5 separate regions of the Homo sapiens genome follow, and all the other regions are linked to region 1. Evidence: promoter capture Hi-C in human tissues and cell types (Jung and others, 2019). All regions are on one chromosome and are shown on one strand. The core of a region is centred on a gene start or on the middle of the fragment in contact, and the rest is flanking DNA. Distances in the headings are between cores, read along the strand shown.

Evidence for each region. Contacts are between HindIII fragments. The study calls those that stand out against the background at their distance.
Region 2: a contact is called between the fragment with the promoter of ZNF799 here and the fragment with the promoter of ZNF700 in region 1, in 3 of the 25 tissues and cell types used here (heart left ventricle, mesenchymal stem cells and spleen).
Region 3: a fragment that was not itself captured here is called in contact with the fragment with the promoter of ZNF700 in region 1 in 4 of the 25 tissues and cell types used here (bladder, dorsolateral prefrontal cortex, hippocampus and 1 more).
Region 4: a fragment that was not itself captured here is called in contact with the fragment with the promoter of ZNF700 in region 1 in 2 of the 25 tissues and cell types used here (lymphoblastoid cells and mesenchymal stem cells).
Region 5: a fragment that was not itself captured here is called in contact with the fragment with the promoter of ZNF700 in region 1 in 1 of the 25 tissues and cell types used here (lymphoblastoid cells).

Annotation. Positions count from the first base shown.
Region 1 is chr19:11,923,663-11,926,469 of GRCh38, forward strand. ZNF700 (zinc finger protein 700) reads left to right here and starts at 1,445. Exons shown (of 4, transcript NM_144566.3): 1 at 1,445-1,611. The coding sequence starts at 1,549. It also overlaps a transcript of ZNF69 not described here. RefSeq lists enhancers at 1-141, 142-931, 1,088-1,660, 1,108-1,157, 1,208-1,317 and a silencer at 1,708-1,907. The HindIII fragment of the contact is 4,963 bases long and covers 1-2,807 here.
Region 2 is chr19:12,399,841-12,402,647 of GRCh38, forward strand. ZNF799 (zinc finger protein 799) reads right to left here and starts at 1,431. Exons shown (of 4, transcript NM_001080821.3): 1 at 1,228-1,431. The coding sequence starts at 1,230. RefSeq lists enhancers at 726-815, 1,536-1,585 and a silencer at 1,046-1,205. The HindIII fragment of the contact is 18,323 bases long and covers 1-2,807 here.
Region 3 is chr19:12,344,430-12,347,236 of GRCh38, forward strand. It overlaps ZNF442 (zinc finger protein 442), which reads right to left. Exons shown (of 6, transcript NM_030824.3): 6 at 1,515-2,807. It also overlaps a transcript of ZNF563 not described here. Among named protein-coding and RNA genes, the nearest start is that of ZNF563, 12 kb to the left of the region's middle. The HindIII fragment of the contact is 8,186 bases long and covers 1-2,807 here.
Region 4 is chr19:12,275,596-12,278,402 of GRCh38, forward strand. ZNF44 (zinc finger protein 44) reads right to left here. Exons shown (of 4, transcript NM_016264.4): 2 at 361-487. Among named protein-coding and RNA genes, the nearest start is that of ZNF44, 18 kb to the right of the region's middle. The HindIII fragment of the contact is 9,813 bases long and covers 1-2,807 here.
Region 5 is chr19:11,583,353-11,586,159 of GRCh38, forward strand. LOC124904638 (a long non-coding RNA gene) reads left to right here. Exons shown (of 2, transcript XR_007067140.1): 2 at 65-312. It also overlaps the pseudogene GAPDHP76. Among named protein-coding and RNA genes, the nearest start is that of ACP5, 7.1 kb to the left of the region's middle. RefSeq lists enhancers at 533-672, 683-742. The HindIII fragment of the contact is 7,524 bases long and covers 1-2,807 here.

The DNA.
Region 1 (2,807 bases), core at 195-2,694:
GCCCTTAAGTTATCTTAGATTTTTCCTCCCCCACTTTATACATAAGCATAGGAGGAGAGCAGGGACTCTGCTGGTGTCTTATTTACACAATGGGATTGAAGGTGTTTGTCTCGCGAAACTAATCGATGGGGTGAGAAGTAGCTGAATAACCTGCAGGGGGCAGCAGAGCCCAAGGCCAGTGATTCCACGTTGAGGACAGTCTCTGCAGCCTGCAAAGGGAGGGAAAGAGAGTTTCCCTGGGGGCTTCGCGGGCAGCCCACCCCCTTCTACAAGTGGCCTCCAGCTGCTCAGAGCAGCTCCAGAAAGGGTGTGGATTCCGAGAAGCTGCAGAGCCCTGGAAAGCAGAAGACCCATGTGCAGACGCATTTGTGGCGTCTCTGTCCTTTCTGGTGTTGTACCTCTGGAGCTGTCTTCTGGGCAGGGTTTGGGGTTTGACATGCATGGGGTCGTTGGGGTCAGAGTTATTTGTATAGATAAAGAAAATGTGTGGCCGGGCGCGGTGGCTCACGCCTGTAATCCCAGCACTTTGCGGGGCCGAGGCGGGCGGATCAAGAGGTCAGAAGATCGAGACCATCCTGGCTAACACGGTGAAACCCCGTCTCCACTGAAAATACAAAATATTAGCCGGGCGTGGTGGCGGGCGCCTTTAATCCCAGCTACTCCGGAGGCCGAGGTAAGAGAATGGCGTGAACTCGGGAGGCGGAGCTTGCAGTGAGTCGAGATCGCACCACTGCACTCCAGCCTGGGCTACAGAGCAAGACTCCGTCTCAAAAAAAAAAAAAAAAAAAGAAAGAAAGAAAAGAAAATGTGTGAAGATCAGGCTAGAGCTAGAGACAGAATTGTTTGGTGGCGTCACCTGGATAAAGGGTTCATGAAGTTGACAGTTTACTTAGGTCAGAAACAAAACCTGGTGAGAGTTTCCTGCTGGTGAAAATGAAGATCTGAAAGGAGGAAGCATTTTCACAAGGGGATGGGGGTGTGTGAGCAAGGCTTGGCCACGCCTCATCCCCAATTCCGGCCCGCTCGAGGACATATGCCTCTCCTCCTGGTGCAGTCGTGCCTGGCCTGGTCTCGGTTCCCCTGCTGCTCTGAGGCCAGCAGTTGGCTCCTATGGACACTGAGTCTGAAATTCCCTGCACACTCCTGTGACCCCGTGCAGAACGAAGGAGCGGGGACTGTCCCTTGAGTGAGGATGACGCTAGTGTTCTCTTCTATCAATAGCAAGTTTGGCTGAAATGCAAATATCCAATAACCAGAGTGCAGAAAGCAGCTCGCCCTTAGAGAAGCTGTGGCTAGAATCCGTCAGTCTGGCTCTGCGGGGCCTGATACCCAGGGCTTCAGCTGTCACTCAGATGTGGGGGGCGGGACCTAGTATTTCATCCAATCAGAGGTGCTGGGGCGTGGCACTGCCCACAGTTCATCCGGAAATGGAGGGGGTCGCTTTCCTCACCTTCCTCGCTGCGCGGGCGGCGGTTGGTAACCGGTCAGACCAGCCCGAGAGGGACCTGGTGCCTGTACCCAGGCTTCTGTCGCTCTGTCGCCTGCGCTATGCCCTGCTGTAGTCACAGGAGCTGTAGAGAGGACCCCGGTACATCTGAAAGCCGGGAAATGGTGCGTGTGCGGGACCAGATGTCGTGAGACGGGGGAGGGGCTGCCTGGAACAGGCGGGAACCGGCTGTGGCGGGACCCGGGCCTCCCTGTGGGCGACTCCGGGGTCTGGGACCGAGTCCTCCTTGAGCAGTTCGGCCCTCGGTCCCCTTGGCCGCTGGACGGGGCTGGGCCAGCAGCCAGGACCCGGGCGTCCTGTCCCGTCCCTGCGCGGCGACTGCGGCCGCGGCCCCTGCCCCGGAGCCCTCTCTGGGCAGTTCCGCTCCCGCAGCCCCGCGTCTCCCCAGATTGTGCGGAAGCAACGGGAGGGTCATGGAGGCATCCTGACTCGGGTGTGGGGTTCGTGCGTGGGAGGAGCAGTGGTCTGTGGGGCCCCCAGTCCCCACTTTCTCCTGTTAAAAATTAAACTGAGGTACGTTAACAATTAAAGAGTTCATTTGAGCAAACAGCGATTCACGAATGAGAAACACCCCGTCCTGGGTTGTGGTTTGTCAACGGAAAAAGCCAAACTATGTAAAATAAAGAAGTTTATTCAGAGCCGAATAGGAGAGACCTTGGCCGAGGGAAACACAACCCCAAGCAGCCTGGAGTAAGTGGTCCCGAGGCGGCTCAAGACAGTTTGGTTTTATTCATTTCAGAGAGACAGGAATTGCAGGGAAAATGATGAATCAGTGCCTGAAAGGTGTAAGTTCCATTGGCAGAAAGGGTGGGACCTGTGGAAGGGGGGTTAGAAGGCACAGGTGGTTGAGGGATTCTGTAGGTGGCAGCTGGTTGAGAGTGTGAAGTTTGTCTAAAGTTTGGAGGAGGTAGGAAGGAAGGGGGTCTGTTATCTGCCACTTGATTCCATCCCAGCCAGAAAACAGACCTGTTTCTCTAGATTTTATGAATTCTGAGGCGTGACTTTACTTTTGCCTTGCGTGGCCTTAGGTTTTGTTTGTAAGTTAGTATCTTCTTGCCACAAGCAGTCTGTTTTTCCATTCTATCTATTTTTACATGAATGTGTGGGAGAGGGTATAAGGAGACCTGTCTCACCTCCCATCCTGTCATACAGAGGCACTCAATTTTCAGGGTTTTTTGCGGGTCCTGTTGGCCAAGAGCCGGTCACTTCACTTAGCTGGAAAGGTACTTTGTTTTTATTTGAGACGGAGTCTCCTGTCGCCCAGACTGGAGTGCAATGGCCTGATCTCGGCTCACTGCAA
Region 2 (2,807 bases), core at 181-2,680, 480 kb after region 1:
GGTCTTGCCATGTTGCCCAGGCTGGTCTGGAACTACTAAGATTAAGCAATACCTCTGCCTTAGCCTCCCAAGGTGCTGGAATTACAGGAATGACCCACCGTGTTCAGGAACCCAAAATAATTCTTTCAAGAAAAAGCCATACATTGCTAGCTGAAAACAAGATGACAAACTAGTGAAATATCGCCTGGGGGCCAAACAGTTCATACCGTTGCTGTGAATTAAGGACAGAAGGTTAGCCTGGGGAAGTCTCTGGAAACCAAGAGATTTGCTGCCAGCCCTAGGAGGAGTCAGGATGAGAGAACACAGTGGTGGATTTGAGACCCTGCTAACCACATCTTTGGAAGACTCAGAGGGGAAACGGTCGCCCTTGGAAAGAAAGAAGGGACTGAGGACCACGGAGACCACAGCTCCTCCCACACACAAACCCCACACACGAGTCTGGATTCCACCTGGTGACTCGTCGTCACCGTGCAGCCTCCTCACCGGGTTCACAGGAACTGCGAGCCAGGCTGGAGGCGAGATTGCAGTTAGATATTAACCAGGTGCCCTCAGCCCCGCTGCCTCAAGGGGCCGCCTCCCTGAGAGTCAGGTCACAGCAGACGCTGACCGCCGGCTTCCCCATTGTGCCTGGGGATAAGATCTCTGAGAACTGCTCAAGAGTCGCCGGAGTTCTCAGATCCTGAATCCCAGCAAAGGCTGGCGCCAATCAGGTTGAAGTCCCAACGAGGGAGCCCATTCAGCAGAATGCGGTTTCTTCACCTCCTGTCCCAGGATTCACCCCTCACTTCCCCACCAACCAACGACCCTACACCCAGCCGCCCCCGTCCAGACCCCAAATCCCTCAGGGAGGCGGATCTGGGGTGTCCTCCCCTCTCTGGCTATTAAACTGTTTCTGCTGCAGCCCTCAGCGTCTCGGTGCAGTGAGTCGGGCCGCGAACCTGTGTTGCTTACAGCCGCACAATCTCGGGAGACGCGAGGCTGCGGGCGCGGAGCTGCCCAGAGAGGGCGCCGGGGCCGCAGTCGCCGCGCAGGAACGGGACAGGACGCCCGGGGTCCCGGCTGCATGCCCAGCCCCACCCTGCGGCCGAGGGCCGACCTACGCCAGGGGAACCCGGGTCCGTAGATCCCGGAGTAGCCCTTGGGGAGGCCCGGGTCCAGCCACAGCCGATTACTGCAGGTTCCACCCAGCCCCTCCCCCGCCTCGGGACGCCGGCCCAGCACACGCACCATTTCCCGACTTCCGCGGTGTCCCAGGTCCTCCGGACGGCTCCCGCTGCCAATGCGGGTTCCCGCGGGACACAGGCTGCCACGGAACTTCCAGGTCGTCTCTTAGCTACAGAGCCGAGCACCGAGCGCCCAGCGCAGGTGGGTGGAGAAGACGCCGCGGGCTTTTTCAACCACACACTCCTCTGGGAAGCGCGCCTGATTGACAGTTCCCACGAACCCGCCCCACGGCCCTTACTGGATACGGCGTCAGGTGCCGCCCCTCGTGGACTGATTGACAGAAGAAGCGATCTTGCACAGCTGAGTGGAGCCAGATGAGCAAGTTCCTGACACAGCCCTTGGCAGGGCGGGCTTCCTCCCTGCTCTTTGATCTGAATCCTCCCGAGGGATATTTGCACTTAAGCGGAATTTCCTGCCTGTACTCAATAGGACCTCCTGCTTCTTCCTCCTGTACACTGACTGACAAAACAATTATACTTTTTTTTTTTTTTTTTTTTTTTTTTCCGAGAGAGAGAGAGAGAGAGAGAGAGAGAGAGGGAGTCTTGCTCCGTGGCTCAGGCTAGAGTGCAATGGTGCGAGGCTCACTGCGACCTCCGCCTCCTAGGTGGGTTCAAACAATTCTGCCTCAGCCTCCCGAGTAGCTGGGATTACAGGTGCGCGCCACCACACCCGGCTAATTTTTGTATGTTTTAGTAGAGGCCGGGTTTCACCATGTTGGCCAGGCTGGTCTCGAACTCCTGACCTCGTGATCCGCCCACCTTGGCCTCCCAAAGTTCTGGGATTAGAGACGTGAGCCATCGCGCCTGGCTCCAATTATACTCTTTTTCAATGAAATTTTTCAAAATATTTCAATGTACAATTAAATTATTTTTTACTATAGTCACTCTGTTGTGCTAGCAAATACTAGGTCTTATTCATTCTTTGTAACTATTTTTTATACCTATTAACCATCCCCACTTCCCCCATAACTACTCCTCGCTACTACTTTTCCCAGCCTGTGGTAACCATCCTTCTACACGTTTTTGGTTGTTTGAGATGGGGTCTTGCTCTGTTGCCTAGGCTGGAGTGCAGTGGGGCCATCATGGCTCACTGCAACCTCTACCTCCCAAGCTCAAGCAATCCTCCCACCTCAGCCTCTCAAGTAGCTTCAGATTGTTCACTGTTGGCATATAAAAATGTTACTGATTTTTGTATGTTAATATTGTATCCTGCAACTTTACTGAATTTATTTCTCAGTTCTAATACTTTTTTGGTGGAGTCTTTAGGTATTTCCAGATATAAGATCATATTATATGCAAACCAGGATAATTTGACTTCTTCCTTTCCTTCCCAATATAGATGCCCTTTATTTCTTTTTTTTTTTTTTTTTGGACTTATTGCTCTAGCTGGGACTTCGAGTACTGTGCTGAACAACAGTGGTAAAAGTGGGCATTCTTATTGTGTTCCAGATCTTACAGGAAAGGCTTTCAGTTTTTCCTCATTCATTATCATGCTAGCTGTGGGTCTGCCATATATGGCTTTTATTATGTTAAGGTAGCTGCTTCTATACCCAGTTTTTTTTTAGGGTTTTTATCATGAAGGGA
Region 3 (2,807 bases), core at 142-2,641, 420 kb after region 1:
TGTAATGTACCACATTAACGAAGAAAAGGCAAAAAACACATTTATCATCTCAAATGATACAGAAAAATAATTTGACAAAATTAAATACCTTATGTTCCTTTTAAAAAATACATTTGATAAACCAGGAATGGAAAGAAACTTCCTTAATAGGAAAAAAGTCACATATGAAAAACCTGTAGGTAACATGGTCAATTTGAAAGACTGAAAGCCTTCCCTCTAATATCAAGAAGACAGGATGCCCACTTTCAACAGTTCTATTCAACATACTAATGGAAGTTATAGCTACAGAAATAAGGTAAGAAAAAGAAATAAAAGGAATCCAAATTGGAGAGAAAGAAGTAAAATTATCTGTGTTTACAGATTACATGATTCTATGTGGAGAAAACACTGAAGACTCCACAAGGGAAAAATAAAATTTTACAGCTTATAAAACAAATGCAGCAATGTTGCAGAATATAAAATCAATACACAAAAATCAGCTGCTAACAATGAATAAACAATAGACTAACAATGAATAAACAATCCAAAAAGAAAATTAAGAAAATAATTTTAGTTATAAAAGCATCAAAAAAAGTAAAACACTTAAAAATAAATGAAACCAAGAAATCAGTGATGTGTACATTGAAAACTACAAAACATTCTTGAAGCAAATTAAGGAAGATAAATGAATGGAAAGATATCCCATGTTCATGGATTCCAAGACTTACTATTGCTAAGATTAAAATACTACCAAAATCAATCTACAGAATCAATGTGATCCCTATAGAAATCCTAACAGCTTCTTATACAGAAATAGAAAAGCCTATTCTAAAATTCACTTCAAATCTCTAGGGATCTCTAATACCAAAACAATCTTGAAAAAGAACAATGTTGAAGAATTCACACTGCCTTATTTCAAAACTTACTACAAAGCTACAGTGATCAAAACAGTATGGTACTGGCATAAAGACAAACAGATAGGCCAATGGAATAGAGTAGACAGCCTAGAAATAAATGCTCATATACAGGGTGAAATGATTTTTGACAACAGTGCCAAGACCGTTCTTTGGTAGAAGGACAATCTTTCAAAAAATGGTGTTGGGAAAACTGGATATCTACATGCAAATAATAAAAGTGAACCATCACATTACATCATGTATAAATAGTAACTTATATTTAATCAAAGACCTATACTTAAAAGCTAAAACTATAAAATACTTAGAAGAGCCTGGGTACAGTGGCTCATGGCTGTAATCCCAGCACTTTGGGAGGCCGAGCAGATCACTTGAGGTCAGGAATTGGAGACCAGCCTGGCCAACATGGTTAAACTCTGTCCCTACTAAAAATACAAAATTTAGACAGGCGTGGTGGTGGGTGCCTATAATCCCAGCTACTTGACTACTTGGGAGGCTGAGGCATGAGAATCACTTGAACCTGAGGTGGAGGTTGCAGTAAGTCAAGATCATGCCTCTGCACTCCAGCCTGGGTGACAGAGGGAGAAAAAAAAATTACTTAGCAGAAAACATAGGGGAAAATTTTGTTAAATTTGGCAGTGATTTATTGGATACGACATTTAAGGCACAGACAACCAATAAAAGATAAACTGGACTACATCGAAATTAAAAACTTTTGCGCACCAAAGGACAATCTCAAGATGAAAAGAAAACCTACAGAAAGGGAGAACACATCTGCATATCACATATCAAATAAGGGCTTAATACCCACAGTGTATAAAGAATTCCTACAACTCTCTTCCAAGCACTTGGGAGCTGAAAAAAGAAAGAAATTTTCTAAATATTAAAAACTAAAAATTTTAAATAAGAATTCCTATAACTCAACAACAAAACACAAATGACTCAATTTTAATGAGCAAAGGATTTTAAAACAAACTGGTTCAAAAAATATATAAACAACCAACAAAAACAAAAACCAATGTGCATTATTATTGGTCATTAGGGAAATGCAAATCAAAACCACAATGAAAAAGCAGTACAGAACCATTAATTGGCTATTATGAAAAAAATACGACAACCAGTATATGTGACAATGTGGAAAATAGAAACCCTTATGCATTGCTGGAGAGAATGTAAAACATTGTAGCCACTTTGTAAAGCAATATACCTGTTCCTGAAAAAGGTTTACACCAATTATTCTGTGAACCAGCAATTACACTCCTAGGGATACATATATCCAAAAGAATTGAAAGCAGGGACTCACACAGACATAGACATACCACATCCACAGCAGCCTTATTGATAGCAGTCAAATTATTACTGTGGAAACAACCCATGTTTATCAACATAAAAATGGATAAACAAAGTATGCTTTAACCATACAGTGGAAATTTATTCAGACACAAAAACAATGAGTTCCTGATACATGCTACCACATGGATAAACCTTGAAAACGTTCTAAGTGAAATAAGCCAGACATGGAAGGACACATGCATACTTCCACATATCTCTCTCTCTATGAATAGTCAAATTCACAGACAGAGAAAGTAGAATGGAGATTTTCAGTACTTTGGGATAGGATGGAATAGGTAATTACATGTATGGAACACTAAGTAGATAGAGCAAGTAGCACAGTAACACGTATAAAATGATCCCTTCCTTTGTGTATTCTAGTTTGTACCAGCACTGTAAGAGGCTTCCAGATGAGCAGTTCCAGTGGTTAATGTTGGTAGTTCAAAGGGTAACACTGCCCTCTAGGCAACATCGTGGAGGTCTATTTGAGATATATTTCACTACAAGTTATTCTCATGAATACTTCAATGAAACAGCTCTTATCAAGGCCCCCAGTGACCAAATACTTGCCAAAATCTACAG
Region 4 (2,807 bases), core at 116-2,615, 350 kb after region 1:
AGATGGAGCCACTGCACTCCAGCCTGGGCGACAGAGCAAGACTCCATCTCAAAAAAAAAGAAAAAAAATTTACTTTCTCTAACTTACTTTATTCTGAGAATACAGTATGCAATACATATGACATATATGTGCTCGTCACTTGTTTATATGACTGATAAGGCTGCTGGTCAAAAGTAGGTTAAGCTGTGGCAGACAAAAGATTATATGAGGACATACAACAGGTTGGGGCCTGGCACTTCACCCTGTGTTGTTCAGGAATGAACTGTATCCCTTTTCCATATTTCAAATCACTGAACAGCATTGATGACCACAAAACAAATGTCTCTAATTGACCAAATGAAGACATGATGTCATCCATACCTATACAGTTCAGGTTCCTAATGGTTTCTCGCATCACATCTCTGTAGAGATTCTTCTGTGATGGACCCAGCAAAGCCCACTCCTCATGGGTGAAGTTCACAGCCACATCCTCAAAGGCCACTGAGTCCTGAAACATCCCATATGTCCAGAAAAGGAAGGTTGAAACTCACAGTACTGAGAACCTATACTCACCTTCATAAACTTCCCATGATGCTGTGGTTTCCAAGCATTTATTCAATGACGTGGTAAATCCACTCTTATTCTGTGTCTGCACTCACTGTCTGATGCTGGAATTCTGATGCTGGAATTGGGCTTGCTAAAATAACAGTTGAGTAGGAACATATCTCTTATTGGTGAATTATGCAAGTGAATCTTATTGCCTGGATTACTCCTAATGTCTGTTTCTACAGTGGGTCTGTAGTCCTTGTCATGACAAAGTCCTACCACCTACTGTGCAAAAGAGAGTTACAATTAGCAGTCCTGAGACGGCATATCCTTACAACTGCTTGTTCACAATGTTGAACCTTTCGTGGTGTCTAGACAATGTATTTAGGGGAGGGCCCCGTAAGCATAACTAATAAAGGGGGTGGAGTGTGCCTAAACTATTTGTGTAAAAATTATGGTATTTGCTTAACTCCTAACTTCCCTCTGAGAGTTTGGAATTGTATTACATCCTCAGCAGAGGAAGTGTACCCAATCAGCCACTGCTAGGTTTGAATGTCTTCCCCTCCAAAATGCAGGCTGAAACTGAATCTCCAATGTGGAAGTAATCAAAGGTAGTGGTTTAAGAGGTGAGTGGGTCTTGAGGGTTTGGAACACATGGATGGATTAATCCACTCATGTATGAATGGCTTAATAAATAAACTGGTTATCACAGATGAGGTTCTGGTGTCCTTATGAGAAGAGGAAGATACTTCAGCTAGACACTCAGCCCCCTCATCATGTAATGCCCTGTACCACCCAGGGACTCTACAGAGTCCCCATCAGCAAGAAGATTCCCACCAGATGCCCACTTTGACCTTACTTGATCTTCCCAGCTTTCAGAACTGCAAAAAATAAATATCATTTCTTATAGATTACCCCAGTTCTGGTATCCTGTTGTAAGTAACAAAAAAACAGTCTTATAGACTAAGACATACACAAAGAAACACTCTAGGCACAGGGTCCCTAATGTGCAACTCTGGTAGATGATATTTCATATTTTTGTTGTTGTTGTTTTTTCAATGTCTTACTTGGGGGATTTAGCCTATCCTACGTGATTACACAGAGAGAATATTTGGAAGCTGGTGACTGGTTCCCTGTAGATCAAATGTAGTTAAGTATGACAAAAGACTAATAAAAGAGATTTTACCAACTAAATAGAAAAAATTGTAACTTTCTACTGGGTAATGTCGAAGGAGAAAGAAAAGAAGAGGACAGACTGCAAATGTTCTTAGACAGAATTCAGTGTCAGCTTTCATGAATATCAATTATATTCCATAAATCTCAACAGCAGACATTTAATAATCAATAACATTACATAAACCAATTTTTATAGAAGTCATAAATGTCTAAAGATGCTTAAAAAAAACCTTCTCATCAAGAAAGTAGACAGCTTTACAAAAACAAACAGAAGATTTAAAACTGTAATTTTTCACATCCCATACTATTAACAGAGAGAAAAAGATACATAAACAGGAAAGTGAAAAATGATAGAAAAGCCTTGTATTGTTTTTTCTTTGGCCCCATCTCTGCCCATCTCATTGCCAGTCCTGAAGACAGCAGAGTTCCCAGTGTAGAACTCTGATCACCACAGAGTGTACAGATCACATTTTGTTTCCACATTATTGCCTTTGTATTTTTGAATCAGTCTGGGGACTAACCGAAGGTCTGAAACAAGGCTCTCTTTTCTATTTCATCTACAACAGAATCCAATCAGAGTCAAACTGGGCAGGAACTACTTTAAAATGTTGTAAAATACACAAAAAGTGTGCAACCACCTAGGACAACACAAGATGACTAAGACATACATTAGAAGGCCAGGTGTGGTGGCTCACACCTGTAATCCCAGTACTTTGGGAGGCCAAGGTGTTGGGAACAGGCCCCCAAATCTAGCCATAAACAAAATCTCTGCAGCACTGTGACATGCTCGTGATGGCTATGACGCACATGCTGAAGGTTGTTGGTTTACCGGAATGAGGGCAAGGAACACCTGGCCCACCCAGGGTGGAAAACTGCTTAAGGCGTTCCTGAACCACAAACAATAGCATGGGCCATCTGTGCCTTAAGGACAAGTTCCTGCTGCAGATAACTAGCCAGAGCCCTTCCCTTTGTTTCCCGTAAGGAAGGCTTTTAGTTAGTCTATAATCTATAGAAACAACGCTTATCACTGGCTTACTGTCAATAAATATGTGGGTAAAACTCTGTTTGTGGCTCTCAGCTCTGAAGGCTGTCAGCCCCCTGATTTC
Region 5 (2,807 bases), core at 304-2,803, 340 kb before region 1:
TAAACGGACCCAAATATGCATCCAATGACCTCTTAAAGTGATATTTCTTTTTCTTTTTGTTGAGATGGAGTCTCACTCACTCTGTCACCCAAGCTGGAGCGCAGTGGTGTGATCTTCAGCTCGTCCCAACCTCCGTCTCCCAGGTTCAAGCGATTCTCCTGACCTCAAGTGATCCGTCTGCCTTGGCATCCCAAAGTGCTGGGATTACAGGCCTGAGGCCAGGCCCTGAATTAATTTTTTGATGTTTCACTTTGCCAGGTGTATAAGTAACATGTTAGTTGTGATTGTAACTAAATAAAGGCTTAAGGGAAACCGTGTTTCTAAATTTCTAAATTGACTACACATTTACAAAGGAACCCACAAAGATGGATTTTTGGGCCGGGCGCAGTGGCTCACGCCTGTAATCCCAGCACTTTGGGAGGCTGAGGCAGACAGATTGCCTGAGTTCAGGAGTTCAAGATCAGCCTAGGCAACAAGGTGAAACCCTTTCTCTACTAAAATACAAAAAAATTAGCTGGGCATGGCAGCGAGCACCTGTAATCCCAGCTACTTGGGAGGCTGAGGCCGGAGAATTGCTTGAACCAGGGAGGCAGAGGTTGCAGTGAGTCGAGATCACACCACCGCACTCCAGCCTGGGCAACACAGTGAGACTCGATCTTAAAAAAAAAAAAAAAAGATGGACTTTTTCGGGGCCCCAAGGCTTCAAAATTCAAAATGCTGTCATGAGTTAGTTTGATTTGAGGAACCAAAAATTGGCTTTTGTGGCTGGAGCAGAGTGAGCAAGGGGGAAGTGAATCCGGAAGGTTGAGTCTGCAAGGTCAAGGGCAAGGAACAGAGAAGGGTGTGGGTGGGGCAGGTTGCGTGTGCTCTTGGGGGCTGCAGGGAAGGGGGCTTTTATCTGGGTAAGGTGGGAGCCACAGAGGGTTCTGATCAGAGGGACAGATCTGACTTAGATTTTGCATGATGTCCCCCAGCTGTGGGCTGCGGGGCATGGGCTGCTGAATAGGTGGTTTAGGTGGGCAAAGATGGGTCATGGTGCCCCCTACCCTTTAAAAATTAAAAGACAGGGCCAGGAGCAGTGGCTCACGCCTGTAATCCCAGCACTTTGGGAGGCTGAGGTGGGCGGATCACCTGAGGTCAGGTGTTTGAGACCAGCCTGACCAACAAGGTGAAACCCCATCTCTACTAAAAATACAAAAAAAATTAGCTGGGCGTGGTGGCAGCCACCTGTAATCCCAGCTACTCGGGAGGCTGAGGCAGGAGAATCGCTTGAACCCGGGAAGCAGAGGTTGCAGTGAGCCAAGATCGTGCCACTGCACTCCAGCCTGGGCGACAAGAGCAAGACTGTCTCAAATAATAATAATAGGCCGGGTGTGGTGGCTCACACCTGTAATCCCAGCACTTTGGGAGGTTGAGGTGGGTGGATCACTGGAGCCCAGGAGTTTGAGACAAGCCTGGGTGACACAGTGAGACCCCATCTAAATTATTATTATTATTATTATTTGAGACAGAGTCTTGCTCCATCACCCAGGCTGGAGTGCAGTGGCGCGATCTTGGCTCACTGCAAGCTCCGCCTCCCGGGTTCACGCCATTCTCCTGCCTCAGCCTCCCAAGTAGCTGGGACTACAGGTGCCCGCCACCACGCCCAGCTAATTTTTTGTATTTTTTAGTAGAGACGGGGTTTCACCATGTTAGTAAGGATGGTCTGGATCTCCTGACCTTGTGATCCGCCTGCCTTGGCCTCCCAAGGTGCTGGGATTACAGGCGTGAGCCACCATGCCCAGCCTGAATTTTTTTTCTTAAAGATTAAAAAGGCAGAGCCTCTCTGCTCCTCCCATTTGACAGACAGCCACATCTTTTCATGCAGTGAAAAAGGCATGTCCCCGAGACACCGTGGTGAAAGTGAAGACAGGAGTAAATGGATTTGGCCATATTGGGTGCCTGGTCACCAGGGCACCAGAGCTGCTTTTAACTCTGGCAGAATGGATGTTGTCACCTCAATGACCCCTTCATTGACCTCAACTACATGGTCTACATGTTCCAATATGATTCTACCCACGGCAAGTTCCGCGGCACCATCAAAGCTGAGAAGTGGGCTGGGTGTGGTGGCTCATGCTTGTAATCTCAGCTACTTAGGAGGTTGAGGTGGGAGGATCACTTGAGACCAGGAGTTCAGGACCAGCCTAGGCAACATAGGGAGATCCTCTCTCTCTTAAAAAAAAAAAAAAAGAAAAGAAAAGACTGAGAAAGAGAAGGGAAGCTTGTCATCAATAGGAAATGGGAATCTCATCCCCATCTTCTAGAAGCCAGATCCCAGCAAAATCAAATTGGGTGACGATGCTGGCACTGGTTATGTCATGGAGTCCACCAGCAGCATCTTCACGACCATGGGGAAGGCTGGGGCTCGCTTAGGATGGGCAGCCAAAGGGATCACCATCTCTGCCCCCTCTGCCCATGCCCCCATGTTTGTGATGGACATGAACCATGAGAGATACAAAAACCTCATGATCGTCAGCAATGCCTCCTGCACCACCAACTGCTTACCCTCCGGCCAAGGTCATCCGTGACAACGTTTTTTTTTGGTTTGGTTTGGTTTTCTTTCTTTCTTTTTTCTTTTTTTGTTTTAAATAGGGATGGAGGCCAGGTGCAGTGACTCATGCCTGTAATCCCAACACTTTGGGAAGCTGCGGTTGGAGGATCACTTGAGCCTAGGAGTTCAAGACCAGCCTGGCCAACATAGCAAGACTCTGTCTCTACAAAAAGTTTAAAAAAATTATCCAGGCATGGTGGGGTGTATCTGTAGTCCC